Linked DNA regions of Homo sapiens: all the other regions are linked to region 5. Evidence: promoter capture Hi-C in 16 types of primary human blood cells and fetal thymus (Javierre and others, 2016). All regions are on one chromosome and are shown on one strand. Each heading gives the region's core, a stretch centred on a gene start or on the middle of the fragment in contact. The rest is flanking DNA. Distances are from core to core; before and after follow the strand shown.

Region 1 (4,236 bases), core at 128-2,627, 190 kb after region 5:
CAAGTACTTGAAAGAAGTAGTTGGAGGCCAGGCGCCGTGGCTCACACCTGTAATCCTAGCACTTTGGGAGGCCGAGGTGGGAGGATTGTTTGAGCTCAGGGGTTTGAGATCAGCCTAAGCAACATAGCCAGACCCCCATCTCATAAAAAATAGAAAAGAAGACGAAGTAGTATTTACAAATGGAGCAGAACCAGAGTCCTTCCTGAGGTTTCACTTGGAGGCTGGATGGAGTTGGCGGAGGTATGAGCCTCCCAGCAACTCCGTAGTTTATGTTTATAGCCAGCGAGCGCTCAGAGCTTCCGTGAACCACCTCAAGTGGAAAGGGTTCAATCCCTATTCTCAAGCTTTCCTGGCAAGAGGAGTTTCTTTTCTTTTTTCTTTTTTTTTTTTTTTTGAGACGGAGTTTCACTCTTGTTGCCCAGGCTGGAGTGTAATGGCGCGATCTCCGCTCACCACAACGTCCGCCTCCCGGGTTCAAGTGATTCTCCTGCCTCAGCCTCCCAGGTAGCTGGGATTACAGGCATGCACCACCACGCCCGGCTAATTTTGTGTTTTTAGTAGAGACGGAGTTTCTCCATGTTGGTCAGGCTGGTCTCAAACTCCCAACCTCAGGTGATCCTCCTGCCTCGGCCTCCCAAAGTGCTGGGATTACAGGCATGAGCCACCATGCCCAGCCGCCAAGAGGCGTTTCTAATCTCTTTGGGTAATCAGACCCTTTTAGCCAAAGGTTCGGGGGCTTAAAAGAGCCTGACAACTATTGAGATCTGGCAGCTGCCTGGAATGCAGCTGGAGCACAGAGGGTGGGAGGTGGGAAGGTGCTGGGGAAGCTAGGAGAGTCAGCTGGGGTCAGCTCCTGCAGGGCCTAGTAGGCCTGGGTGAGAAGCTTGTGTTTTATTCTAAGTACAGTGGAAACCAATGGAATGATTTTTATGTAAAGTGTGACGTTTTAAAAATTACCATCAAGCTGTCTAGGCTGAAGACCTTAAGAAAGAGGGGTGAAGATCATCTCTGAGGAGGCATAAACTACTGAGGCCTCTCAGTTTCAGTCTGATGCTGTTTGGGGAAGTTACTTGTGGCCTTTTCTCTTGAATGTGTCTGGGTAGTGGAGATGCTGTCTGCAGTGGCATCTGTTTACCTCTCTCCTATTAGCTTCGTCAGACCATGGCTAAGTTCCTTCAGGAGCACCTGGCCCCCAAGGCCCAGGAGATCGATCGCAGCAATGAGTTCAAGAACCTGCGAGTGAGTTGGGAGGTCCGGGCAGTCGGGGGCAGTCAGGGAGTGGGGCTGAGCTGCACTGCTGCCTGGAAGAGCTCACACAGTTTTCTGGTAAATGAAGCCTCTCTAAGAATGCAGCCCCTCTCTCTGAAGTGTTTGGGTCTCATTGTTCCAGCCACATGTGACTGGCTGCCTTCCCCTCAACACTTATTCCACTCTGCTCCATTCTGTTGGCAGGAATTTTGGAAGCAGCTGGGGAACCTGGGCGTATTGGGCATCACAGCCCCTGGTGAGTATAGTGTCTTTCCCTAAAAAGAACTTTTCTTATGTGCCCTTTAAGACAGTTCCCAAAAGAAGCAGGAAGGGAAGGGAAAGATTGTGCTTAAAGAAACCCAGAACTGCATCTTTTGGACCTGTGAAAGCACCCATTGATTGTCAGCCCAGAGAACAGGACACTCTTCTATTTTATTAGACAGTGATGTAGAGAAGGCAGAGGGATTAATTAGGTCATTGTGGCTCACTTGGATCAGGATCAGTCCAACTCTTGAACTCTGCATACTTAATAGGCTCACCCAGGTGATTTGGGAAGTTTAGAAAACTCTGGATCAAGTGGTTGTCTTCATAGTACCTCAGTCTTACTGCCTCCCCTAATCCCTATAAGCTTTGTCCTACCAGTGGCCTCTCGGCAGGAACACTCTGGGCAGGTGTGTCCCTGCAGGGACTGCCTGTGTCCTCTTCTGCTTAAACCTTGGAGCTCATTTGGGAGCAGATAGCGGGGGGAGTAGGGTAGGGGCTGGGCAGGGGAGAGAGATGTCTATCTGGGCTTCCAGGTGAGGTGGCCAGATGATGTGTTTAATAGGCTGTCCGGAGGGAGAAGGCAGGGAGCTAGCAGGCTCTGGTTTGGATGATATTAACGTCTGAAAGAGGCCCAGACTGGCTTGCAGTGCCCGGTAAAGAGATGAGCCTAGGCCAGGCGTGGTTGCTCACACCTGTAATCCCAGCACTTTGGGAGGCCGAGGCAGGTGGATCACCTGCGGTCGTGAGTTCGAGACCAGCCTGACCAACATGGAGAAACTCTGTCTCTACTAAAAATACAAAATTAGCTGGTCATGGTGGTACATCCCTGTAATCCCAGCTACTCGGGAGGCTGAGGCAGGAGAATTGCTTGAACCTGGGAGGCGGAGGTTGCAGTGAGCTGAGATTGTGCCACTGCACTCCAGCCTGGGCAACGGAGCGAAACTCCGTTTCAAAAAAAAAAGCCCAGCCTGCTTGGGCCTGTATTCACTCTGGGCATGAGAGTATGAGTGGAACCCAATATACTTCTCCTTACATCCTAGAAAGTTATATCACCTTTCATAAAATGAAACCACTTGAAGATTAATTGAAACCATCTTAATGTAAAAGCATTAGGGGAAAGGCTGCTGGGTACTCCTAAGCAAGACTCTCCTACTGTGTTTTGGGGGTTTATGTACCCCACTCCCTGCAGACAATATGCTTCTGAATCAGATTGTATTTTACGGAAGAAAGAGGCAGTTAGAAATCAGATGAAAATGGCCAGGTGTGGTAGTGGGCTCCTATAATCCGAGTGACTCGGGAGGCCAAGGCAGGAGGATCGCTTGAGCCCAGGAGTTCAAGGCTGCAATGAGCCATGGTTACACCATTGCACCCCAGCCTGGATAAGAGAGTGAGAGCCCGCCTCTTGAAAAAAAAAAAGAAAAGAAATCAGATGAAAACTCTTTCAAGGGAACCTGAAAAAGAAAGCTGGTTACAAGTTCTGGTTTCTGCATGATGTCATGGTGGCTGTTTCTAATGTCACCTGCCTTCAGGCTTTCCTTCCTGCAGTTGTAGGGGCAGGTCAAGGTTTCCTTAGAGCCTAGAACGAGCCTGACTTATTGGTCAGAGTGAACATGTGTATAGGACCTTGCTAGGCTTGACCCAATCAGCAGGGCTGGGGGTGGTATCAGGTGTCTCAGCCACTTGGAGTTTGGATCTGCTGCCAAGGAAAAACCGTATATTTTATGAGGAGTTCTGAAATTCTCTGCCAGCATCTCATCTGCCCTCTGCTGTACAGCTCACCTCAAGATTTTCCCTGAGGCTGTGGCTCTCCTGTCCTGTCACCAGTCCTGCTTCTTTCTTTTTTTTTTTTTTTTTTTGAGACAGAATCTCACTCTGTCGCCCAGGCTGGAGTGCAGTGGCGCGATCTCGGCTCTCTGCAAGCTCCACCTGCCAGGTTCACACCATTCTCCTGCTTCAGCCTCCCGAGTAGCTGGGACTACAGGCGCCCGCCACCATGCCCGGCTAATTTTTTGTATTTTTAGTAGAGACGGGGTTTCACCGTGTTAGCCAGGATGGTCTTGATCTCCTGACCTCGTGATCTGCCCACCTCAGCCTCCCAAAGTGCTGGGATTACAGGCGTGAGCCCCATGCCTGGCCTCCAGTCCTGCTTCTTTGGGTTCAGCCCTATGCTATAAAATCTCACCTTCCTCAGGCCTTTTGCAGACACATCAGATCCTCTGGCTTTGTATCTGTTCTTGGTGCTTTGGACACCACCTCCACCCCAATGCCTTTGTTTTTCTCCAGGCCCTCTTTCTTCATTTATTCATCTGCCTCTGCATTTCTGTAACTTTCTGAGTAGTGGGTGCTCAGGTTGTTCACGTATCTTCATCAAGAAGTCTGTCTGGGATAAAGCAGAAGTTGCAATGATTGCCTTCTGAATCACCCCTCAGCTGAGGAGCACCAGCAGGCAAAACCAGTCCACTGAGCTTGTAAGCAGGTCTGTGGCATCAGCTTATTCTTGTTGCTAGAGAGAATTTGGAGTAGGTGCTACAAGGTGCTTCCCTTCTGCCGTCAAATGTAAGATTCTTAATGAATGTCCCGATTTAATCTGGGCTGCGTTTTCCACTCCCTTGTACCACACCACTCACAGTTCAGTATGGCGGCTCCGGCCTGGGCTACCTGGAGCATGTGCTGGTGATGGAGGAGATATCCCGAGCTTCCGGAGCAGTGGGGCTCAGTTACGGT
Region 2 (4,417 bases), core at 1,125-3,624, 140 kb after region 5:
GTGCAGTGGCTCATGCCTGAAATCCAGCACTTTGGGAGGCTAAGGTGAGAGGATCACTTGAGCCTAGGCTACATAGTGAGACCTTGTCTCTACAAAACAATTTTTTTTTTTGAGACAGAGTCTTACTCTGTCACCCAGGCTGGAGTGCAGTGCTGCAATCTCGGCTCACTGCAGCCTCTGCCTCCCGGGTTCAAGCGATTCTTCTGTCTCAGCCTCCCAAGTAGCTGGGACTACAGGTTCCCGCCACCATGCCCAGCTAATTTTTGTATTTTTAGTAGAGACGGGGTTTCACCATATTGGACAGGCTGGTCTCGAACTCCTGACCTCAAATGATCCACCCATCTAGGCCTCCCAAAGTGCTGGGATTACAGGCATGAGCCGCTGTGCCCAGCCAAAAAAAATTTTTTTAATTAGCTGGGTGTGGTGGCACATACCTATAGTCCCAGCTACTCCAGAGGTTAAGGTGGGAGGATTGCTTGAACCCTGGAGGTCGAGGCTTCAGTGAGCTGTGATCACGCCACTGCACTCCAGCCTGTATGACAAAGTGAGACTGTCTCAAAAAAACTTTTAAAGAGGCACTAAGGCTCCCTAGAAAAAAAAGAGGTTCAGGGGGCTGTGTCTTGCAAGAGGCTAGGGTTGTTGTATTGGGGGCGCTGTTTGTTTTTGTATGCTCAGCAAACTTGTAAGTACCAGAAAGCCCTGATGTCAAGTATTTGCTCCTGACGTCACATACTACACTCCCATTTGAGGGTTGAAAAAAAATGAATGTACTGTATGTTCACTGGGCCCATTCTGGGGTTGTCCATTGTGACTTGCCAGCCCCAAGCAAGACATGGCCAGCCTTGGCACCACGTTACCTCAGCAGCTCCATCTCATGACAGCACGGCTTGTTGGTGAATGACAAGTTGGCTCAGACTCCAAGCTCCCACCCCCTTCCAATCCTGGTGGGAGGAGACAGGTACAAGCAGCTAGGACCCCATGGAAGGCTTTCCATTCACTTGAGCCCCAGGGCAAAAATCCATTCACTTGTGCCCTCAGGGGCCACCAACCCCATTCCTGTCCTAGCAAACCATCCTTCCCGTCCCTGCACTGGGCACACTGATAGCTCCAAGCTTCCTGCTCCCATGCCATGCCAGATGTTTACACAAGACAAGAGTCTGTAGGGACAAGCATACCATGACCTGGCACAGGGCAGACACACAACATGAATAATTAGCAAATGAACGGATATTGAAATCTTCCCAAGAGGAATCGGATTAACACACAATTGTTGAGTCTAGGGGGGCAAGTGTAAGAGTATGGGGTGTAGGGGCTGGTACATGGTGCTGTTGTGTCTCCATCTACCCACCATGTAGGTGAACCCGCTGTGTCCATTTAACCCCCATGCCTGGCACCTACAGTGCCAGCTCTATATTGGGGCCAAGCTAAGCCGGAGGGAGCAGTTTTTTCCCTTTCTTCCTTTGAAGGGTGTGTGTGTGTGTGTGTGTGTGTGTGTGTGTGTGTGCGCGCGCGCGCGCATCCGTGGGAGGGAGAAAGGAAAGACTGCAATTTAGATTACAGTAAATTAAAAGTTACCTTTTGAACACAGGTATTCCCTGCTCTTACTCCAAAAAGATGGACCCAGGTAAGCACTGTGGCTGAGAGGCTGGGAATTGGAAGAAGGGAGAGAGCAGGAGAGCGGTAAAGGCAGGGACTATCAGTCAGCCATAACTAGTGCGTGCCAAAAATGTACGTGCGTGTGTGTTTGTATGAAGGCAGTGGTAGGGGTCCACAATGAAGACAAGCCCTTACATACTGTAGAACATGTTACAGTTTAAAAAGCATGCTTACTCATCATGTTCTTAGGTGCTTCTAAGGGTAGGTGCTTCTCCCACCGCACACTCAAGGCCCAGGGGAGCTAGGGGTTATGCTCAGGGAAAGGCCATAGAGGTGCAGCTGGGTCGGAATCCAGAATCCAGTTCTTGGGAGCTGTGCCATCGGCTTCCCTCGAAATGAACAAAAGACCGTCCTAGCCTTTAAGAAGTAGCAGGTGATTCCCACACCAATGGGGCACTTCAGAACATGCAGGACCACTCAGGTGGGTGCTGCAGGAGCCCAGTGGACCCACAGCTGGGCAGCCTGGATGGCTCCCATGTGGATTTCCTGCATGAGGGCAACACGCAGCTGCTCCAGGGAGATTTCCAAGTGGGAGGAGGCATGAGCAAAGGCCAAGAGCTGAGAACAGAAGGTCATAAACAGGAGACAACAAACAGCTCTGAGAGGCTGAGCAGAGATTGGGCCGAGATACGTGGGGCGTGACAGGGGCAGAGGACAGATGGGGAGGTTGGCAGGGCTGCTGGCCTGGAGGTAGAAGCAAGAATCAGGTGGATGACAGGGTTGGCCACCATGGAGCACCTCCAGGCTGACAGAGTTGAGACAAGAACCCATACCTCCTAACTGGCGCCACTCCACCCAGGAGGACTCAGCCAGCCCTTGAGCACACAGGGACACACTGCTGAACCTTATATTGACTTCCAATATGTATCTTTGCTGAGAGAATGAATGAAGGAATGATTGTCAGGCAAGTGACCATGTCTGAGAGGCCCTGTTGGGTTAGGGGTGTGGGCACAAAATCCTTAGTGCCAGGGAGAAGACAGGTTTTTTTTTACTGCAGAACCAAATGACCAAAGCTGCTTCTTTTTTTTCCCTTCCTCTCCCACAGGTCCGAAGGTAGGAAAGTTCCCCCAATGGTCTCCCCTTTTTCCTCCCACTGTCATGTCCTCCAGACCCCTAGCCTCCTTCCTAGACCCTCAGGGAGCAGCCACCACTTCCCCCAAATGAAAAGAAGGGAGCAGGCTCAGGCAGCAGCCCCGTGGAGTGGGGGTGGGGTGGGCAGCGCTGCACTCCTCCACCCCCTGCTGGCTGCAGCCTTCTTGGCGTTCTCTCCTCTGTTTTCCCATCTGTCTCTCTCCTTTCCTCACGTCCCCTCCCTGCCCTAGCAGCCCATCCTCTCTCCTGCTGCTTCCCCGCCTGTGCTATGCTTTTCTGCTTTCCTGGCTACCCCCACAGCCTTGCTGGATAGCTGGCTTGCTCCCAAACTCCAACCACACTATGGGGCCCCTAGGACCTACTCCTGCCAGAGAAAGGAGACTGCGTCTCCTCCACCTCTTCTCACCCACTGGCTACCACCAGCAGACTCAGTTCCTAGGCCTGGTCTGTGTGCCAACCCCCAAACAAAAGAGCCATAGGCAGAGAGGCAGGTGGGGTGGGAAGTGGCTGTTTCCAGGCATCACTGAGCCTGGATGGGGCAGGGGCTGCTCTACCATGGTCACAGGAAAGCGCCCAGCCCTGGAGCCTGCCTCTTCCCCACTGGTACCAAGCCCTAATCAAGCCCTAGGAGGCAGAAGGAGACTGGGGAGTTATCCAGCCCAGACAGTGGGAGCATAGCCCCGCCCTGCTCCACAGGGCCCCAGACCCCGAGTCCCCTACCACAGAAGCAAGGTGGTATCTCTTGCCTGCCCCCTGGGCTTGTGGCAAAAAGTTAAAAAAACAAAAAAAAAACAAAAAACTCCCCTGGCCTTGGGACTTCAGGAATGATTCCAGCCAAGATGGAAGGTTAAACCACACTTTTTCCAGACCTCTTCTGACTGAGGCAGAAAAGCTTTGATTTTACTTTCTATTCTTCCTGATTTCTTGGGTCTGGCATCCGCTCAGGAACAGGTATGAGCTCGCACATACTCATGTACACAGAACCATGCACTCCATGCACGTATCTGTGTACATACCAAGCTTGAATATGAACCCACCCATGCACACGTACACAAACATAGCTATTTTATATAAATATGGCACACACCGTCTACACACATACACACTACCTATAAAAAGAATACATACATCCTCACCTTGCCACCTCCTACCCTCCGTGTCTTCTCATCCTCCAACTGTCTTCCTTCTTCCCCTCCTCAGCTCTTTCATCTCCCCTGACCCAGCCTCCTGTCTCCCCCTGCCCCTGGCCTTCAAAGAGCTCTTCTGTAGCCTCCTCTAGCCTCACCCTTGCTCCTAAGTACAATGAGCCTGCAGTTCCTAGCATGGCAAAGCCTCTAATCACTCTGCAAGGGTTCCTGGGTGAGAGAAAGGAGAAGATGAAATAATTCTGCTTCTTAGTTGCAAATAAAATAAATCGAGGTACAGGGAGCGGGAGTCATATCTTGGCTCAAAGAATAGAAACCAATAAATCTAGGTTGCTTGCCTTTTATCTGCTCAGTGTTCTGGCCTCACCAAGGCAAAAGGCACGGGACATGCTACCCATGCCCCCAGCCCTCCACCGCAACTCCTTACTTGCCTAGAAATCCTGAGTCCCCCAGGGAAGTGGAGTGAGGGAGAGCTGATCTCAGGTAAGCTTAGCCCTGACCTCTGACTCTGACATTGTTCATTT
Region 3 (4,485 bases), core at 110-2,609, 200 kb before region 5:
CCCTGGGGCCAGCCCACGAAACCATTTTTTCCTCCTAGGCCTCCAGGCCTGTGATGGGAGGGCCTGCCATGAAGACCTCTGACATGCCCTGGAGACATTTTCCCCATTGTTTTGGTGATTAACACTTGGCTCCTTGTTACTTATGCAAATTTCTGCCGCTGGCTTGAATTTTTCCTCAGAGAATGGGGTTTTCTTTCCTGTCTCATTGTCAGGCTGCAAATTTTCTGAATTTTTATGCTCTGTTTTCCTTTTAAAACTGAATGGTCTTAACAGCACCCAAGTCACCTCTTGATGCTTTGTTGCTTAGAAATTTATTCTGCCAGGTACCCAAAATCATCTCCCTCAAGTTCAAAGTTTCACAAATCTCTAGGGCAGGGGCAAAATTCTGCCAGTCTCTTTGCTAAAACATAGCAAGAATCACCTTTACTTCAGTTCCCAACAAGTTCCTCATCTCCATCTGAGACCACCTCAGCCTGGATTTCATTGACCACATCATTATCAGCATTTTGGTCAAAGCCATTCAACAAGTCTCTAGGAAGTTCCAAACTTTCCCCCATTTTCCTGTCTTCTTCTGAGCCCTCCAAACTGTTCCAACCTCTGCCTGTTACCCAGTTCCAAAGTCACTTCCACATTTTTGGGTATCTTTACAGCCCAACTCTACCGGTACCAATTTACTGTATTAGTTTGTTCTCGTGCTGCTAATAAAGACATACACGAAACTGCGTAATTTATAAAGGAAAGAGGTTTAATGAACTCACAGTTCTCTGTGGCTGAGGAGGCCTCACAATCATGGTGGAAAGCAAAGAGGAACAAGTCATGTCTTACATGGTTGGCAGCAGGCAAAGAGAGAGAACTTGTGCAGGGAAACTCCTCTTTATAAAACCATCAGATCTTGTGAGACTTATTCACTATCATGAGACTATCATGGGAAGGACCCGCCCACATGATTCAGTTACCTCCCACTGGATCCCTCCCATGACACATGGGAATTGTAGGAGCTACAATTCAAGATGAGATTTGAGTAGGGACACAGCCAAACCATATCAAGATTATAGGAGGTTTTAACATTTTTTGGGTTTTTTAAAAATTTAAGTGATTTATGATTAACTCTAAGATTAAGCTATGTCAATCTGAGCCTTCATTTAGCCCTTAGGTTTCATGTGCCAATTTATGGATGAACTAGGTTGTACTTGCCTACAGTCTTAAAATGGCTATAATTTTGTTTCTTAATAATTTCTACTTTAGCTCCTGGGAGTTTTCTTTCTGGCTTTATGACTATGGTTGTTTCCTCTTACTCCAGCTGAGTACCAGGGACTGTGAGATCAATCATCTCTAGCCACTGACCTCTTCTGGGGCAGTCTATGAGTACAGCTGGTGACAGCCAGGATCTGGCATCCAGGTGGGAGGAGAGGGAAGGGAGGATCAGGAGGCTGCCCACAGGAGAAGACATCTCAAGGTTGCAAATAGGAATGATTCAAGCCAAGGAAGGGAATTTCTAGCTAATTCTGTATTAAAACAAGTCAGACTTTGCCTTATTGTCCCCCCATGTCTATGCCTGCAGTAACAGGAATTCATGAGAATAAGAAAGGTAAAGAGGAAAAATACTGGCCTGAAAATAGATAATGGAAGCTCTGCTAGTGCCAGGGTCTGCTTTGCTGGGGTCAGCATTAAGTGTGAGTAAATGTATCTGAATAAAAGTGAACCATGAGTATGTGTCTAAAGCATTCCTGCAAGGTGCTTTCAAGTTGTTGGAAAAGGATAATCCTTAGTCAGGATTGTGGCAAAGCCTAAAATAATCTTTGACCACAAAGATAATCGTAGCATCCCATGTGCTCCTGCTCCTGCAGGTGCACACAGTCGGTGCAAAGGGAGTCTTCCCCTGCTGTGGATGGGCAGCTGACTGTGCCCCTTTGCTTTCCAGCTGTGTCGACTCTACAAGTTTATTGAACAGAAGGGAGATTTGCAAGATCTTATGCCAACAATAAATTCATTAATAAAACAGAAAACAGGTATTGCACAGTTGGTGAAGTATGGCTTAAAAGACCTAGAGGAGGTTGTTGGACTGTTGAAGAAACTCGGCATCAAGTTACAGGTTTGGCAACAGTTTGATACTGGCAGTACAAATGTGTAGCATTACTAATAGCACAGGGAGGAAATGTGTTTCATTTCACTAATGCTAGTTAGTGTTTTATTTTTCCAGAAAAACTGCTTTCTGTGTTTTGGAGCATTTGATATTTAGTAATAATTTTGGCTTAAATCAGGATTTCTTTGCAAGTGCCACTGTTCCTATCATGAAGCAGTTCTTACTATGTTAGCCTCAGAGAGGTGGTTATTCTTAAAGAGAAGAGAATTTATTTTACTTGTCAGGCTATGGTTAAACAGACTTTGAGCTAGATCTTACTGAATATTTTGTTTATGCTAAATAGATTGTTCTGATGCTATTGATGGGAAACACCATTTTCAGCATTATATTCCACATTCTAAATTTCAAACCCTTGACACATTTGTGTGGCATCTCTCTTTATAGGTCTTGATCAATTTGGGCTTGGTTTACAAGGTGCAGCAGCACAATGGAATCATCTTCCAGTTTGTGGCTTTCATCAAACGAAGGCAAAGGGCTGTACCTGAAATCCTCGCAGCTGGAGGCAGATATGACCTGCTGGTGAGGGCTTGCCCTTTATTTATTTGCTCTGACTTAATTTTATTTCTTCTAAACTTGTTATTTTGAAATTTTCAAACTAACACCAAAAATTTGAACCAGTAATATCATTGGATACTTCTATTAATATATGTTTCATCTAGGAATAGAAATATAATGTGAACCACATTTGTAGTTGTTTAAGCTTAAAACAATTATATTATTTTGCAAGATAGTTGCAAAGATAGTACTGAGAGGGCTCATGTACCCTTTACTCTGTTTCTATATATATATATATATATATATATATATATATATATATATATATATATATATGTATTTTGGAGACAGGGCCTTGCTCTGTCACCCAGGCTGGAGTGCAATGGCGCAATCTTGGCTCACAGCAGCCTCGACCTCCCTGGGCTCAAATGATTCTCTCACCTTAGCCTCCCGAGTAGCTGAGACTACAGGCATGCACCACCACACCCAGCTAATTTTTTGTATTTTCAGTAGAGACAGGGTTTTGCCATGTTGCCCAGGCTGGTCTCAAACTCCTGAGCTCAAGCAATCCACCCACCTCAGCCTCTCAGAGTGCTGGGATTATAGGTGTGAGCCACCACACCACCCCTTGCATAAGTACAGTAAAATATCAAAACCAGAAAATTGACATTTGTATAATGTATGTGCATCATTCTTCTCCATTTTATCACGTGTACTTTCCCTCAACAACCACCATAATCAAGGTACAGAACTATTCCATCACCACAGAGATTTATGGGTATCAACATCTTATCAATTCAAATGAAATGTAGAAACTTTATCTCCCTGTATGTCTCTTTACCTCATGCCCCATTTATAATATAATTGTCTTAAATATTTCTTCTAATACATTGAGATCCACATCAAACAGTGTTAAATTTTTTACTTTACTGTTAAATATAATTATAAAACTCAAGGGGAGAAGAAGGTCTATTGTATTTACCCCAAATTTCTGGTTTGTGATGAGAAATTTGCTGTTATTTGAGTTACTTTTCCCCTATAGGAAAGTTATTTCTGACTTGATGCTTTAAAGATTATTTTCTTTGTCTTTAGTTTCAAATTAAATCATGATGTGTCTTGGCATGAGTTTCTTTGGATTTATCCTGTTTAGGGTTTGCTTAGCTTCTTAAATCTATAGGTTTATGTCTTTTGCGAATTTGGAGGATTTTTTCAGGCATTCTTTGATTTTTTTTTTCAGTCTCACACTCTTTTTTCTCTCCTTCTATGACCCCAGTGACACAAATGTCCTTGAGGTTATGGGACATTTTTGTCCAGGCTGATCTCACACTCCTGGCTGCAAGCAATCCTCCTGCCTTGGCCTTTCAAAGCACTGGGATTGCGGGTGTGAGCCACCACACCTGACCTGTAATTTTAAATTATTTAGTAACATTAAGTAAAAGGAGACAAGTGGTATTAATTTTATAATATATCTTATTTAACTTAGTATATCCAAAATATTATTTCAACATGTACTCAAACTTCTAAAAATTATTAACAAGGATTTTACATTTTTTTCAAAGTCTTTGCAGCCAGTATGTGTTTTACATGTACAGCATGTGTCAATTTGGATTAGCCATATTTCAAATACTCAGTAGTCACTTGTGACTAGTGGCTGCCATATTGAACAGTGCAGAGTTAGATGAAACATTTGTTAATATTTTTTCTAAATTTGCATGTGTGCTTGCTTCTCTATTTTACTACACACACACATTTCTTTTTGTTGAACTCTTTGATGATGAGCTGCTGACAGAGTGCTCACTCTTTAATCATTGTTTTCCCCGTAATCACAGTTTCTTTCCTATTTCATA
Region 4 (4,518 bases), core at 555-3,054, 130 kb before region 5:
CAGGGATGGACATGAGACTAGCAGGCACCTGACCAATTCTGTTATCTGTACTGTTCACAAATACCTAATCTCGGGACTCCAGAGTTACCATCATTTTGGGGCTCTGGTATTTTCCCTTCCACTGTCTGCCACTTTGATCAGGGCAAGAACAATCAAAGGAAACTTGACTTCCTTTACGGCTAACATGGGCTACTACCCATAAACTGGGAGAGAGAAAAAAAAAAAAGAAGAAGAAGAAGAAGAAGAAAAGAAAAAGGAAACTTTAGGGTAAAAACAAAAACACAAGTCTTCCCCAACCAGAACTTTGAAATGGATTGGCCCAGCCCTCCTCTCCAGAAGCCTCCACAGTTTCACAGGTCATTCCCCAAACCCAGGAAAGGGAATATTTCTTTCCCATCCTCAGTGACATGAAGCAAAGAGAATAGCCCTTTGAAAAATAATTTTTTTTTAAACTTAAAAAAGAAAATGTCACTTTCCTTAAGGGTTAAACAAAGTAGGCTATCAGGAAAATCTAGAATGTTCTTCCCCTCAGCCATGAAAACTGCTCACCATTTTCTGTTTCTTGCAAGCTTTATCCCGAGCCCCACCGGGGGTCTCTGGTAAGAGATACTTTAGAAAATAGAGAAGTTGGGGCAGGCTGCTGGCTTCCTTGTGTTTTTTTCCTCTCAGCCATTTCCCAAAACTTCTTAAAGTCCTCGCATTATACAAAGTGAAGATTTGTTCTCTCTACACCAGTAGTTGAGAAGTCTCTCCCGACAGAAGTTTTCACTACTGTTGCTGTTTGGAATTGGCTCAGCAGACGTAAACAGGGTCATCTGGGGCCAAAGAGGGTGGGTGTTTAGCTTTAAAGCTCCGGGGTTAAGAGTGAAAGCATGTGACTCCAGCCCGGCCAGAAACAGAGGAGCCTTTGTGTGCAGCGAGTGAGCCAGAGGCAGTCCACAGGGGGAGCGGGAAGGAGAACGCTGACACAGGTTCCGAGGGGCTGACAGGATGCCACTGCAGGGAGATTAACTCTTTGTTCCACAAGGGGAGCTTCTGTTCATGGCTCACAGTAGAGCAGAATACTTTTAAAAATAAAACAGCGAGCTTGCGAAGGGACACACATATTTCTGTAGCCAGAGTTGAGATGAGAGGCAGACCGAAGCAACTGGAAGCAAGAGCAATGTCCCAGCAGGAGTTTTTGGTCGATTAGCCTGGGCACTTCCTTGGGGTCCTCCCTTCTAAACACTGCAGGCTATTTCTGTGCTGCTGCTCCCCTCACACACACCCCTTCTCCTCCTGGATGGCTGGGATGAACCGCAGGAGATAGCAGGGCAGCCTGGACCACACCTCCCCTGGTTCTGCTTCCTCAGGAGCAGGGAGGCTGGTAGTTGGCAGGACCCTGCCAGAGGGAAGCTGCCATGCCACTGATTCAGCCCACCCTGGCCACACCCTCAGGCACCAGAGCCCACTGGTGTCATCCTTCACCAAGGTGCTTCGGAACCATGGACATTTGGTGAGCGTGGGCTCTGCTGGCACTGAGCAAGGAGGTGGCCCTCAGCCTGGCTCACCAGCCTACACTGCTCAGAGCCCACCTGCCTCAGTGCCAGCGTGCCCTTCCCCCAACTCCACTTCCACCCAGAAATTGCTGCATTGAACCCTACTGAAGTGAGCAAGTCAAATTTCCTGAAAGTCTGCAGAATGTGACTTTCGGACTTTGGCAGGAGGAGGAAAGGAAACAAGGTTCATTTTGCCCTCGCCCCGTGGGACTGCTCAGGAGTTCAGACGTGAGGGCGGCAGTGAGTGGCACGCCTTGCTGAACATCACGCCACGAGCACTCACACTTCCTCCCACTAGTATTCTTCACTCTTTGCTTACATGAAGATTGCTGAGCTCCTTGCAAGTGTCAGGTTCTTTGTTGGATAGCGGGGCTACAGTGGTAAATGAGACAGATCAGTGCCTGCCCACACAAGGGCCTTCGGTCCATCCAGACATGTAAAAAAGCCACTCACACAATAATGTCCATTGGTAGTCAAGAAAATGGTGACAGTTGTACTGAGTAAATGGTGACCATCGGTGGTAAGAGGTAAAAGGGAAATTTGTTGGTCCTTAATGGTATGAAATCCAGTCTTACAGGTGTATTTTGGTTTCCCCAGTCTGTGAAGTGTCATCAGTTCTTCTCTACATTTCACAGAGGAATCATGGAAATTATGGGTCTAGAATGGCCGTAAACTGCAGAATATTGAGGCAGTACCAAGCCCTGGTGCTCGGGCAAGAGGCTCCTGACCCCAGCCTTTGATCTACCAGACTCGGGGGCTGATGAATTTTTTTTGTGGTTGCTTTTTAGAATAGTAGCCAGCCCTCTCAAGCGTGTGAGTGTGTGTGTGTGTGTGTGTGTGTGTGTGTGTGTGTGTGTTCAGCACCTATGAAATCGGTACTCAAGGGCTCAGTACCTATGAAATTGGGCTAAAGGGTACTTGGCAAACATAATGCTGTGTTAGAAATGAGGTTGCCACCAGGCACCAAACCCTCTCCACTTCACAGACGGAATCATGGGGCAGAACCCTGGGCTCACTCAGGTGCAAAACAAGCAGCTTTTATCAGGGTTGCCCAGAACTCCCAGGCCTTTGCCCCTGTCCACTCCCGGGTCTTCCACAGTCCCCAACCATGTTTTCCTACCCCTCCAAGGGCTGACCACTCCCCACCAGTTCATTTTGCATGAACCTCTGAAGCCCCTTTCTGAGCTCATGGAAAAGCACCCCAGGTTCCTTGCCCGTCTTCCAGCTGGATAAGATAGAAGGCTGCAAAGCCCATTGTGGCTACAAATACTCTCTCTGGGCTGAAGTTGTGACCTCCAAAAGGACAGGACCATTTTCACAGCCTCAGTCTCTGAATGTGCTGACAGGAAGTGTACATCTCCAAAATCAAGAATGCAGTACAATAAACACACGTGCCCCCAGAGATTGCACCATCCTCCATCACCGTGTACACAGGGTGAAATGTACATGCGACAGCAGTAACTGCCTGGAGTATGAGGAAAGTCAGGAGCGCAATGAAGAAAAAGCTTGCTTTGGTTTCTAAGTTTTTGCAGTACTTGTTCTTTTGCTTTTTCCTTTACAAAGAAAACCATAATCCTGAAGCCTGGGGACCAAGTGACAGGTTCAGAGACTCAATAATTTTCCTGAAATCTTATGCAAAAATTCTTGAGTCTGAGCATGTCATATGCCTTTTCCCTAAGAGAGGATTGCTATCTTAATTCAGCAGAATCTCAAAAGAGTTCGAGACCTGACCAAAACAAAACAAAACAAAACACAAAATACTGCGAAGCTGGGGATGGTGGCTCACGCCTGTAATCCCAGCATTTTGGGAGGCCAAGGCAGGTGGATCACTTGAGTCCAGGAGTTCGAGACCAGCCTGGCCAACATGGTGAAACCCCATCTCTACTAAAAATACAAAAAATTAGCCGGGAGTGGTGGTGGGCGCCTGTAATCTCAGCTACTCGGGAGGCTGAGGCAGGAGAATTGCTTGAACCCAGGAGGCGTAGGCTGCAGTGAGCCAAGATCGTGCCATTGCACTCCAGCCTGGGCAACAGAGCGAGACTCCATCTCAAAAACAAAAAACAAAAAACCTGCTGAATAAAATGCTGGGGCAGGTCACAGAGATGCAGTCTGGTCCTGCCCCATTGATAGATAAGGACCCCAAAGACCAGTGAGGTGAAGTCACATCCTTGCCCAAAGTCATTCCGTCAGCTAATGATACAGTCAGCCTGAAAACCCAGTCTCCTTAATCCCCACCGGGTGATTCATCCACTTTTCCACACCACCTGGATTTCTTGTAGGGCATAATTTTGAGGGTGGGGACCATGTAGCTTATTTCTTTCCAATCTTCGCACTGGGCTTAGGGTGGCGCCTCGCTTCAGTGCCAGTGACTCATTCAGTGTACCTCACCTTCTTAGGAGCAGGGTTGGCGCTCGAATGAGCATTCGAATGCTGGTGACAGATCCCCCTGCAGAGTAGCGTGGAGCCAGGGGACATGTGAATGGTAGCAAAAGCAGTGGCCAGACAGGGCATCACTAACATCACTTACTTTCACCCTCCCTTTAGGACAATTCCAATTCTAATTCCACACCGAGCCTTCCCAGTTACGGGGGCAGAAGCGTCTCCTAGGAAGCAGTGCGTTAAGGGCAGCATGGTTTGGGGTTTAGGGGTCCAAAGGAGTCTCATTGTACACAGGGACTAGTTCCAAGACCTCCTGTAAAGCCAAATCACATAAAGTGAAAATTTCCCTTGAAAATCCTTTAAAATGCCTATGAAGTACAACAAGCAGACATGATCCCTCCACGGGACATCCCAGCCAGTCAGCTCTGCCTTCAGGCTGGAAGAGACTCCTGTTACCTCAGCTGAGCAGCAGAGGAAAACGTGGGTGGCATTTAGGGCTGTGCTGGGCCAGAGAAACTTATCTTCAGTGTGGCGAGATGCTGCCGTGAGATGAGGCCAGGGAAGGGTGGCTGCGTGTGCTCCCGTCTCACACACCCTCCGG
Region 5 (4,593 bases), core at 1,303-3,802:
GCCGTTGTGACCACCAAAAATCCCCCCAAATTTCCAAGTATGAGAACCCCTGGTATATTTTCACTCTACTTAACATTAAAATGACAGTGCTGAAATTCCCAGGGCTATGGAAATTGGAAGCAGAGGTTTTTTCTAAGCCTTTTAGAATTGGCCATTTGTGGTCTAATGAAGTACGATAACCCTTCTCTCAGCCACTAGAGGCTCTAGGAAAGTCCATAGTATTAAAGAGGCATTGCTTTTTACTTTGTCACTGCTTATCAAATTTAATCAGAAATTTCACATAGATTCATAAGGAATTAAAAGCCAGAAAGGGGCCGAGCACAGTGGCTCATGCCTATAATCAATCCCAGCACTTTTGGAGGCTGAGGCGGGCAGATCACCTGAGGTTGGGAGTTCAAGACCAGCCTGACCAACATGGAGAAACCCCATCCTACTAAAAATACAAAATTAGCCAGGTATGGTGGTGCATGCCTGTAATCCCAGCTACTTGGGAGGCTGAGGAAGGAGAATTGCTTGAACTCAGGAGGCAGAGGTTGTGGTGAACTGAGATCGCACCATTGTACTCCAGTCTGGGCAACAAGAGCAAAATTCTGTCTCAAAAAAAAAGCCAGAGGCCGGGCGCAGTAGCTCACGCCTGTAATCCCAGCATTTTGGGAGGCCGAGGCGGGCGGATCACGAGGTCAGGAGATCAAGACCATCCTGGCTAACACAGTGAAACCCTGTCTCTACTAAAAATACAACAAGATAGCCAGCCGTGGTGGCAGGTGCCTGTAGTCCCAGCTACTCAGGAGGCTGAGGCAGGAGAATGGCGTGAACCCGGGAGGCAGAGCTTGCAGTGAGCCAAGATCATGCCACTGCACTCCAGCCTGGGTGACAGAGCGAGACTCCATCTCAAAACAAAACAACAACAAAAGCCAGAAAGGGCTGGATGCAGTGGTTCACATCTGCAATCCCAGCACTTTGGGAGGCAGAGGCAGGAGGATCTCTTGAGGCCAGGAGTTCAAGACCAGCCTGGTCAACATAGCAAGACCCTGTCTCTACAAAAATAAAATAAAAGCCAGAAAGAACCTTTTGAAATTGCTTAGTTTAGTTGCTTACTTTAGTTTCTGCATATTTTTTGTGAGGAAAATGAGATCCAAAAAAATGGAATGTCCTACCCAAAGTAACAGTGAGTGAGTAGCTGATTAGAGGGCTAGGACACCTTCATGCATGCTTCTTTTTATTAATCTATGAGACATTTTTTCCCTATGCCTCCAAAGTTATATAAATATTTTACAATTACACTGGGCATGGTGACTCACATCTGTAATCCCAGCACTTTGGGAGACCAAGGCAGAGGATCACTTGAGCCTAGGAGTTCAAGACCAGTCTGGGCAATATAATGAGACCTCATCTCTACAAAAAATTAAGAAATTAGCCAGGCATGGTGGCACACACCAGTAGTCCCAGCTACTCGGGAGGCTGAGATGGGAGGATCGCTTGAACCTAGGAGGCAGAGACTGCACTGAGCTGAGATCGCACCACTGTACTCCAGCCTCAGTGACAAGAGTGTAGACCTTGTCTAAGAAACCAAACAAAACACACACATGCACACACTTTACATATATATATAAAATACATATGTATATTTTATATATATCAGAATCCACGATCCCTATAACTATATATATACTATATATATATATATATATATATATTTTTTTTTTTTTTTAATTATAGTATAGTTTTATGGTGGCCAAAAAAGGTTGGCTCTTGTGCCAAGGAAAAATGAGAGCAATTATCAATTTTAAAGTAAAATACATAGATCATTCTGTGCCGTGGAGGTATGTAATTGGAGTAGTTAAAGACTGTATTTAGGAATATTGCACCAATATCAGGAGTTTGAGGGAATTAATTGAGAAAAACAGACAAAAGGAACACATGAAAACCCACTCTTTTCATTTATAAACAGTTCCTATGTCCCCTTGGAGAATAGCATTATTGCATAGGATAGATAAACCCAAGGAAAACAAAATTAATTGATAATTAATTAGTATTATAAAGATTTTTTTAGTAAATAACTGGAATTACAAGTAAGAGTAAGATAAAATATGGTGTTTTACAAGAAATTTTACAATACAGATAGGACTTTATAAAACAGACTTGCATTGTTTTCCATTAAACTCTGGAAGGAAGAATCTAAACAATACTTGGAAAGCCTATCTGGAATAGTAAACAAGAAAGGCTATGACACCTATAAAATTTTAATTTCCTCCATCATAATTCCTGTCAGTGTATAAATCATTGCAATTGTATGTGTTAATGTGTACAGTACAGGGAAGAAGCCTGTGCTCTGCTTCCATACTTACTTTATATAATATGGAAGCTTGATAAATGTTTAATGGTGGCCATGCACCGTGATTGAAATATACTTTGTGTCACCAAAGTGGTGACATTCCTTCCGCATTGGGTGGACACTGCCACTGCTCTGTCTTACAGGTGCATTTTCAAAATTAACCACTGGAGGGAGTTGTTGGCATAGCTAAGATGTACCCAAGGTACCTTTTTTTTTTAAAGACCAGCTATGCAGCTTCTTTCATGGCCTATTTTTATTATCTCCTTCTCTTAAATCTGGGCTCAGAATCCACGATCCCTATGATTGTAACAAGAACAATCAAGCTTTGAAGATAGTGGACTTTTCCTACAGTGTTGACCTTAGGGTGCAGCTGGATGTTTTTACCCTCAGCGGCTTTCGGACTGTACAGATCCTGGAAGGACAAAAGATCCTGGCTAACTGTTCTTCTCCCTACCAGGTAAGTGTAAAACAAGCCTGAGCAAATATGGAGAGGGTTTCTTAATCTCTTTATTATCTAGATAAGCTATAAAAGCTACTGTTTACTGATACCGACTCCTAGAATAGATGACCTAGTTTTCAAATATCACCAAGTCAAGTAAAATGTAACATTTTTGTGTTACAGCATTGAAGAATATACACATACATGTGCAAACACATGACTAACTCTGTAACCGAGTGCCAGGGCCACTCCTACTGCCTACCACCCATGTAATCTTTTATAAGTCATTTTCTGTGATCTTCTCTGTAAAATAGGGATAACAGTCTCTGCTATGTGTTTATCAGAATTGTTATGAGGAGTAAATGAAGTAATGTATATAAAAAGAACATTAGCACAAATGTAAAGTCTTTTGTATGGTGGCATTATATGCAGAAATTCCTTCTAACTCAGCTTTAGACATAAGACATTTGCTGATTGAATATGTAGCACAAACCTGAACTAATCATGTGGACCCCATTTAGATCACAGCTGGAGTTCATGCAAACTCAGTAGGTCTACAAATTTGAATGTGATAGTCCAAATATTTCATCTTTTGTTCTTAAGGATAATTCCTAGAATTGGCTCTATTGATCACTTCTTTGGAGAGCTTCTCCCTTTACTGTAAGGGTGAGGAACAGTCTACTAAAATGTATGTCATAAAATAAACTTAGTTAAGCACTGTAATACCTTTCAACTTCCTACCGAAATAAGCTGCCATGGTAGAGGCAGAGAATTATTTTAGCTGATGGTGCTTTTTGTGATTTCAGGTAGACCTGTTTGGTATAGCAGATTTAGCACATTTACTATTGTTCAAGGAACACCTACAGGTCTTCTGGGATGGGTCCTTCTGGAAACTTAGCCAAAATATTTCTGAGTAAGTATTGATGAATGTCAGGGTCTCTGCCTGTCCCAATAATTTTCTGTTTCTCTTGGGTGCTATCTCTGCTTTGGCAGCCTTAGTTTTTTAATCCAAATGCCATGGTTCCAGTAGTTTCAGCCAGTTTTCATTAGAGTATCAGCAGAGCAGCTAGTGCAGGAAAAAGGAACTGCTTACTAAAAATAAGATTCAAAACTATTCAGACTTCAGGACATCATTCTGAATCTAGCTGTATCTTCCAGACTACAGCTATAGTATGGAAGCTTCCCTGTTTAGATATGTGAAAAGAAGCATTTCATGAGAATAATTTTCTAACTAATTGGTGTTAGCCTTAAATTCCTTTTTCTTTATTTATTTATTTTTTGAGACGGAGTCTCGCTCTGTTGCCCAGGCTGGAGTGCAGTGGCATGATCTCGGCTCACTGCAACCTCTGCCTCCCAGGTTCAAGTGATTCTCCTGCTTCAGCCTCCTGAGTAGCTGGGATTACAGGCGTGCGCCACCATGCCTGGCTCATTTTTGTATTTTTAGTAGAGATGCGGTTTCACTACGTTGGCCAGGCTGATCTCGAACTCCTGACCTTGTGATCCGCCCGCCTCGGCCTCCCAAAGTGCTAGGATTACAGGTGTGAGCCACCGTGTCTGGCCTAAATTCCTTTTTAATAGCAATTATTACCAAAAGTTAATAAGCATCCTTTGAAAAGACTTACATTTCTAAACTATATGCTAATTTTAGGCTATTTTTTATTTAATAAGTGGATAGAACCAAACCAGATAACTGACTCTCCTGGAGAAGAAGTAAGTGGTCTCTTAATAAGCACTGCTTGGTCTCAGAACCTTAGTACTCCCTCAAGCCTGCTCATAAAACTTACTAAGTCAGCCGGGCATGGTGGCTCACACCTGTAAT
Region 6 (4,820 bases), core at 61-2,560, 160 kb before region 5:
GATTTATTTATTTATTCATTTATTTATTTTGAGACAGGATCTTGTTCTGTCGCCTAGGCTGGAGTGCAGTGACGTGACACAATCACAGCTCACTGCAGCCTCGACCTCCCAGGCTCAAGTGATCCTCCTACCTCAGCCTCCTAAGTAACTGGGACTATAGGTGCATGCACCACCATACCCAGCTAATTTTTAAGGTGTTTTTTTTTTTTTTGTAGAGACAGGGGTCTCACTATATTGTCCAAGCTAGCCTCAAACTCCTAGGCTTGAGTGATCCTCCTGCCTTGGCCTCTCAAAGTGCTAGGATTATAAGCGTGAGCCACTATGCCCAGCCTTGTTATTTTTTAAAAAAGGATTTTAAAAAATTATAAAAAGGATAATAGGAAGCTGTTAGAGGGTGATTTAATCAGCAGTAACATTCTCACTCAGGCTGTTGTGGGAGAACAAACTGTAGGGAGGGGAGAGTGGGGGCAGGAGATGGTTGGGAAGCTAGTGCAGTCGGCCAGGCAAGGAGCAATAGTGACTTGGCCTGGGTGGGTCACTTTGTGATGAGGATTAATGAAAAGGCCAGACTGGGGTATTTTTTGAAGCTAGAGTTTGATAATTGGTTGTGAGGGGTGGGAGAGAGAGATGAATCCTGGCCATTTAACTGCAGTGAAAAGACTGGAGGAATAGTTGGACAAGCGGAGGGACGGGGCATACGAGTTCTGTTTTGAACATGACAGGCCTCCGAGGTGTCCACTAGGCAGACGGGATGTCAGGGCAGGGTTACCACCATGTAGATGGTCACTGCTAAGAGCTGGGCACTCCTCCAAACACATACATTAAATCATTTAGTCTTCTCAGTAACCTATGAGGCGAGAGCTGTAGCTATCCCTGTCCATAGGGGGCGTATCCTGTGTGCCATTTCAGATGCCCGCGGCCTCACCTCTTGTTCCAGCCATTGCCCCAGTGACCAGTTTTGCACAGGTCTTGACCAGTGCCGTGTAAATGTCGCCTGGCAGGGCCTCTCCACATGCCTCTCGCCCAACACCATGATGGGGGGACACCCATGGAACCTGCTTGGCATTAACACATGAGCCGCCCAGAAGTGAAGGGGAGCTAACATTCCATGGGATGACTCGAGAGGAGCCAATGGATAACTGTCCCCCTTCTTCCAGTGAGTTCTGAAGTACGTTTCATAAAGCTTCACAGAAAGACTGAGTGGTGTTCACTCAGAGAGATGTTAACACACTCCCATATTGACTCCCCCCTTTCTCTGTTTCATTCCTCCTCCCCCTCACCCCTGCTCCCTGGGATCATGTTCCCAAATAAACTACTCATGCTTAAGCCTTTGTCTCAGGCCCCATGTAAGATCTGATCTTACATGGAGAATTTAACAGCAACAACATCACACCAGGGGCATGCTCACCAGGGGCAGAGCAGGGGTTCACACCCCGGCAAGCTTCTCTACTCGCTTCCATGTTGCCTCTCAAAGATCCCAACCTCTAGAGGACATTTAAAGGCACAGGCCTAGATGGAATCTAACCATCTAACCGGGAGAGACTGTAAATAAGAAAAAAGTCCCCACACCATGCTCACATTTAGAGATCAAGAAGAGGAGGAGCCAGCGAAGGAGCCAGAGAAAGAGCTGCCATCCGGGTAGGAGGAAGCCAGACCAGTGTGGAGTCCTGGACTCCAAAGAAAGACAGCGTTGCAAGGAGGAGCGAGTGCCCTACTGTGCAAACGCTGCTGAGAAATTGAGGAGGTGAGACCAGGAGACAGACCTTTTGGATGCGCCAGTAGGAGGTCACTGGTGACTTGGACAAGGGCAGTTTCAATGGAGTGACAGAAACAAAAACTTGGCTGGTGTAGGCTAAGAGGGAATGGAGGTGAAGATTCGGAGAAGTAGCCAGCAGGGACAACCACTTCAAGGAGGGGTGCGTAAAAGGGAGGAGGAAGTGGAGCAGAAGCTGAAGAGGGTGTAGGGTCAAGGAAGAGTTTGTTTTGAAAGTGAGAGAGATCATAGCGCAGTTATGTGCCGAAGGGAATGGTCTGGCAGAGAGAAGGAGCTGGATAGTGCAGGAGGGAGAAAGGTGATTTCAGGCAGTCTTGAGTAAGTGAAGGGATATGGTGCACAAAATGAAGGGATTGGCCAGGGATGCAAGAGGAGGCCATCCCTCCATCTGTCCATCCATCTATCCATCTGTCCATCTGTCTGTCCATCCATCCGTCTGTCCGTCCGTCCGTCTGTCCACCCATCCATCCATCCATCCATCTGTCCGTCTGTCCATCTATCCTTCCGTCCATCCATCCATCCATCCATCTATCCATGCATGCATCCATTGTGAGGAAGAAAGGTAGCAGCGGGCATAGATGCAGGCACCTTGGGAGATCTGATGGTGAGAGGCACGTACGTTCCAGCAGATGACATTTAGTTTCTCAGCAAAATAAGAAGCAAGATCTTTAACTAACAGCGAGAAACTAAGGGAAGGTGTTGAGGGTTGGAGAAGATGTGAAACACTTATCTGGAGAGTGGCGCAGTGAATTTAGTAGAGAAATATAGTAAGATTACTGGGCAAGCTGAGCGCCCACTTGAAGTTTGTGGTCAGAAGCGTCAAGTGCGGCTATTCAGTATGACTGTGAGTTTCCCCGGCAATGCTCAGCTACTCAGTGCAGGTGCAGGGTGTTGGGTTTAAGCAGGGTGGAGGCTGTGTCAGGAGATTCCAAATGAAGGGAAAAGAGCAAGAAAGGAGAGGGCTTCCACAAATGGGTGATTCTTGTCAAGGCCTACAGAATTGAGCTGGAGAAGGGGGTTGAAGGCAGTGAAAAAGGACAAGTTCAAAGGCAGGGAGTTCCCAAAGGGGACACATCATTGAATGGAGGTAATAGAGTAGATAAGCTGAGAGCCGAGGAAGGGGTGGTCAGGGAGCAGGGGGTTCAGAAGTGCTGAGGCAAAACCCTGGCCATGGGAGTGGGAGGCCCAGGCAGCAGAACGAGAGGTGGAGAGTGAGGAGGCCAAAGACCAAGAGTGGGAGGTGCTGGGTGGACATCTACATGGATGACCTTCCTTGTCCACCATCTCTTAAACAGCTCCCCATCCTGCCACTACCCCTTCATCTGCCTTTTCCTTTCATAGCCCCTCTGTCTAACATTATTTTACGTAGGACTGGTTCATTGGTTAATTATCCTTGCTGCCATCAGAATGTAAGCATCTGAGGGCAGGGACATTTTCTCTCTGGTCTACACTTATAAACTCTTTTCTAAGAACATACCTGGCACAGATTAGGTGCTCAGAAACATGTGCTGGACAAAAGAATGAATTAATGTTAAGGTCTAGGAAAAGCATGGAGGAGTGGTGGTGGAGAGGAAGACCGTGGGCCAGGTACTAAAATCTGTGAATGAGCAGGAGTGGCCTAGAGTATGGTAAATACTAGAAGGGATGGTGGATGGTCTGGTCTGATGGCATAGCTGCAAAGGAGATGCAGACTTAGGCTGAGGAGGAAGGGGGAGAAACCTACAGGTGGCCATGAAAGCAGGGAGGACAACTCGCTGCCTCCAGGCATACTGATGTGGAAGAAGAAAACAGAGCCAAGACAGGAGGTGGCTGCAAGGAAGCTGTGTGTGGGGGTCAGGCAGGTTTGCAGTAGAACAGGATGGTGAAAGGAATGTTCAAAGGGAAAGTCGAGTGGATGGGGAGATTTTGCTGATGACAAACCATAAGTTCCCGAGAGCAGAGTGAAAGGATCTGGGGGATTGTGTCAGATTAGGGGAATAGAGCTACATGGGGGTGAAAGTCTTGGGGGTGAAGGATGAACAACAGTGTCAGGCTTCTGGAGGTGTCTAGGGACACAAGGCCACAGGGCATGATGGGCTCTCCTGAAGGTCTCTCTTGGGCAAGTGGGTACCCCTGCTCACGCCAGCTCCTCCTCCAGCCAGGGCCCACGGGCCATGGACCACAGTGAGGCAGTGATATTGGCGTTGGAGGGGCCTTGCCAGACACTGAGTGTTCGGGGTGGGAGGAGAGGGCAGCTTTGGGTATTGGAAGGAAAGTCGAGCAGGCACTCCGGAGACTAGATTCTCATCCAAATCTTTCCTACAAACCATGACGTAACATTGGGCAAAATGGTCATGATTTTCCTTATCTATAAAATAGAGAGGAGAGGAGGTCTCTCTTAGCTGTGCAAATCCTGGCCTCTGTCTCCTTCTTTCCCTGACTTCTTCTAGCTCCTGTCTCCTCAGCCCTCCCGACTTGTAGCTAAGCCCTGGCTTTGTATTAACCACCCTCCTGCTGTCAGCATCGCTGAGAGGCATAGCCAAGGCCTGCCCTCTTCCTCCTCCCTGGCTCCAAAATGCTCCATGCACTGTCCCATGCCACTCTGATCCTGAGCAGCCAAGTGGGCAGAATGACACTCCTTTGGGCGTGGAAGTGAACATCAGCCATGAGTAGGGAGAGGAAACTGCCCACAGAGAGGGCAGACTCCATCAGGGGCAAGTGACAAAGCCACAGACTGGCATGAAGAGGCTTCCCAGGCCCTCTGGAAGGCAGTGAAGCCAGCAGCCTGGCTCCTGGGATGGGCTGTCCCCTATTCAGCAGCTCCATGGGCCTGGAAGTGGGCCCAGGGAGCCAGCCAGAAGGAGGCTGTGGCCAGAGGCTTGATTTGCAGCCCAGGACTAGGACGCAGGGTTCTCATCCAGGCTTCACCCACAGCAAATGTGCGACTCTCCCTGGCCCTCTGGGTGGGGATTATAATAACTACCTTGCTTACCCCAGTTGCTGGAGGCCAATATTCACTGAACATTCATCATGAGTCAGGCATTCAGTAATCCTCACAATGGCCCTA

Evidence for each region. The method cuts DNA at HindIII sites, captures the fragments that hold promoters and counts their contacts. A CHiCAGO score of 5 or more calls a contact.
Region 1: a fragment that was not itself captured here is called in contact with the fragment with the promoter of BUB1B-PAK6 in region 5 in 2 of 17 cell types (total B cells and naive B cells); the score reaches 6.8 in total B cells.
Region 2: a fragment that was not itself captured here is called in contact with the fragment with the promoter of BUB1B-PAK6 in region 5 in 3 of 17 cell types (naive B cells, total B cells and M1 macrophages); the score reaches 6.0 in naive B cells.
Region 3: a contact is called between a fragment that was not itself captured here and the fragment with the promoter of BUB1B-PAK6 in region 5, in 1 of 17 cell types (total B cells). The highest score is 5.7, in total B cells.
Region 4: a contact is called between a fragment that was not itself captured here and the fragment with the promoter of BUB1B-PAK6 in region 5, in 6 of 17 cell types (M2 macrophages, M0 macrophages, M1 macrophages and 3 more). The highest score is 8.7, in M2 macrophages.
Region 6: a fragment that was not itself captured here is called in contact with the fragment with the promoter of BUB1B-PAK6 in region 5 in 4 of 17 cell types (total B cells, naive B cells, M0 macrophages and 1 more); the score reaches 8.0 in total B cells.

Annotation. Positions count from the first base shown.
Region 1 is chr15:40,406,487-40,410,722 of GRCh38, forward strand. IVD (isovaleryl-CoA dehydrogenase) reads left to right here. Exons shown (of 12, transcript NM_002225.5): 2 at 1,150-1,239; 3 at 1,453-1,504; 4 at 4,142-4,236. Among named protein-coding and RNA genes, the nearest start is that of IVD, 2.8 kb to the left of the region's middle. RefSeq lists an enhancer at 514-1,013. The HindIII fragment of the contact is 993 bases long and covers 882-1,874 here.
Region 2 is chr15:40,351,644-40,356,060 of GRCh38, forward strand. PHGR1 (proline, histidine and glycine rich 1) reads left to right here. Exons shown (of 4, transcript NM_001145643.2): 2 at 1,589-1,624; 3 at 2,702-2,709. The coding sequence starts at 1,615. Among named protein-coding and RNA genes, the nearest start is that of PHGR1, 2.8 kb to the left of the region's middle. RefSeq lists an enhancer at 2,761-3,286. The HindIII fragment of the contact is 2,528 bases long and covers 1,111-3,638 here.
Region 3 is chr15:40,014,581-40,019,065 of GRCh38, forward strand. It overlaps EIF2AK4 (eukaryotic translation initiation factor 2 alpha kinase 4), which reads left to right. Exons shown (of 39, transcript NM_001013703.4): 28 at 1,922-2,092; 29 at 2,528-2,662. Among named protein-coding and RNA genes, the nearest start is that of SRP14, 22 kb to the right of the region's middle. The HindIII fragment of the contact is 2,964 bases long and covers 1-2,841 here.
Region 4 is chr15:40,080,980-40,085,497 of GRCh38, forward strand. LOC105370787 (a long non-coding RNA gene) reads right to left here and starts at 817. Exons shown (of 3, transcript NR_188231.1): 1 at 550-817. RefSeq lists enhancers at 1,353-2,037, 1,670-1,789. The HindIII fragment of the contact is 2,474 bases long and covers 568-3,041 here.
Region 5 is chr15:40,214,876-40,219,468 of GRCh38, forward strand. BUB1B-PAK6 (BUB1B-PAK6 readthrough) reads left to right here and starts at 2,553. Exons shown (of 10, transcript NM_001128629.3): 1 at 2,553-2,792. BUB1B (BUB1 mitotic checkpoint serine/threonine kinase B) reads left to right here. Exons shown (of 23, transcript NM_001211.6): 21 at 2,621-2,792; 22 at 3,581-3,687. The region is part of intron 1 of LOC107984763 (a long non-coding RNA gene); the gene reads right to left. The HindIII fragment of the contact is 293 bases long and covers 2,364-2,656 here.
Region 6 is chr15:40,059,096-40,063,915 of GRCh38, forward strand. The region is part of intron 2 of SRP14-DT (SRP14 divergent transcript); the gene reads left to right. Among named protein-coding and RNA genes, the nearest start is that of SRP14-DT, 22 kb to the left of the region's middle. RefSeq lists enhancers at 2,486-2,545, 3,420-4,255. The HindIII fragment of the contact is 258 bases long and covers 1,182-1,439 here.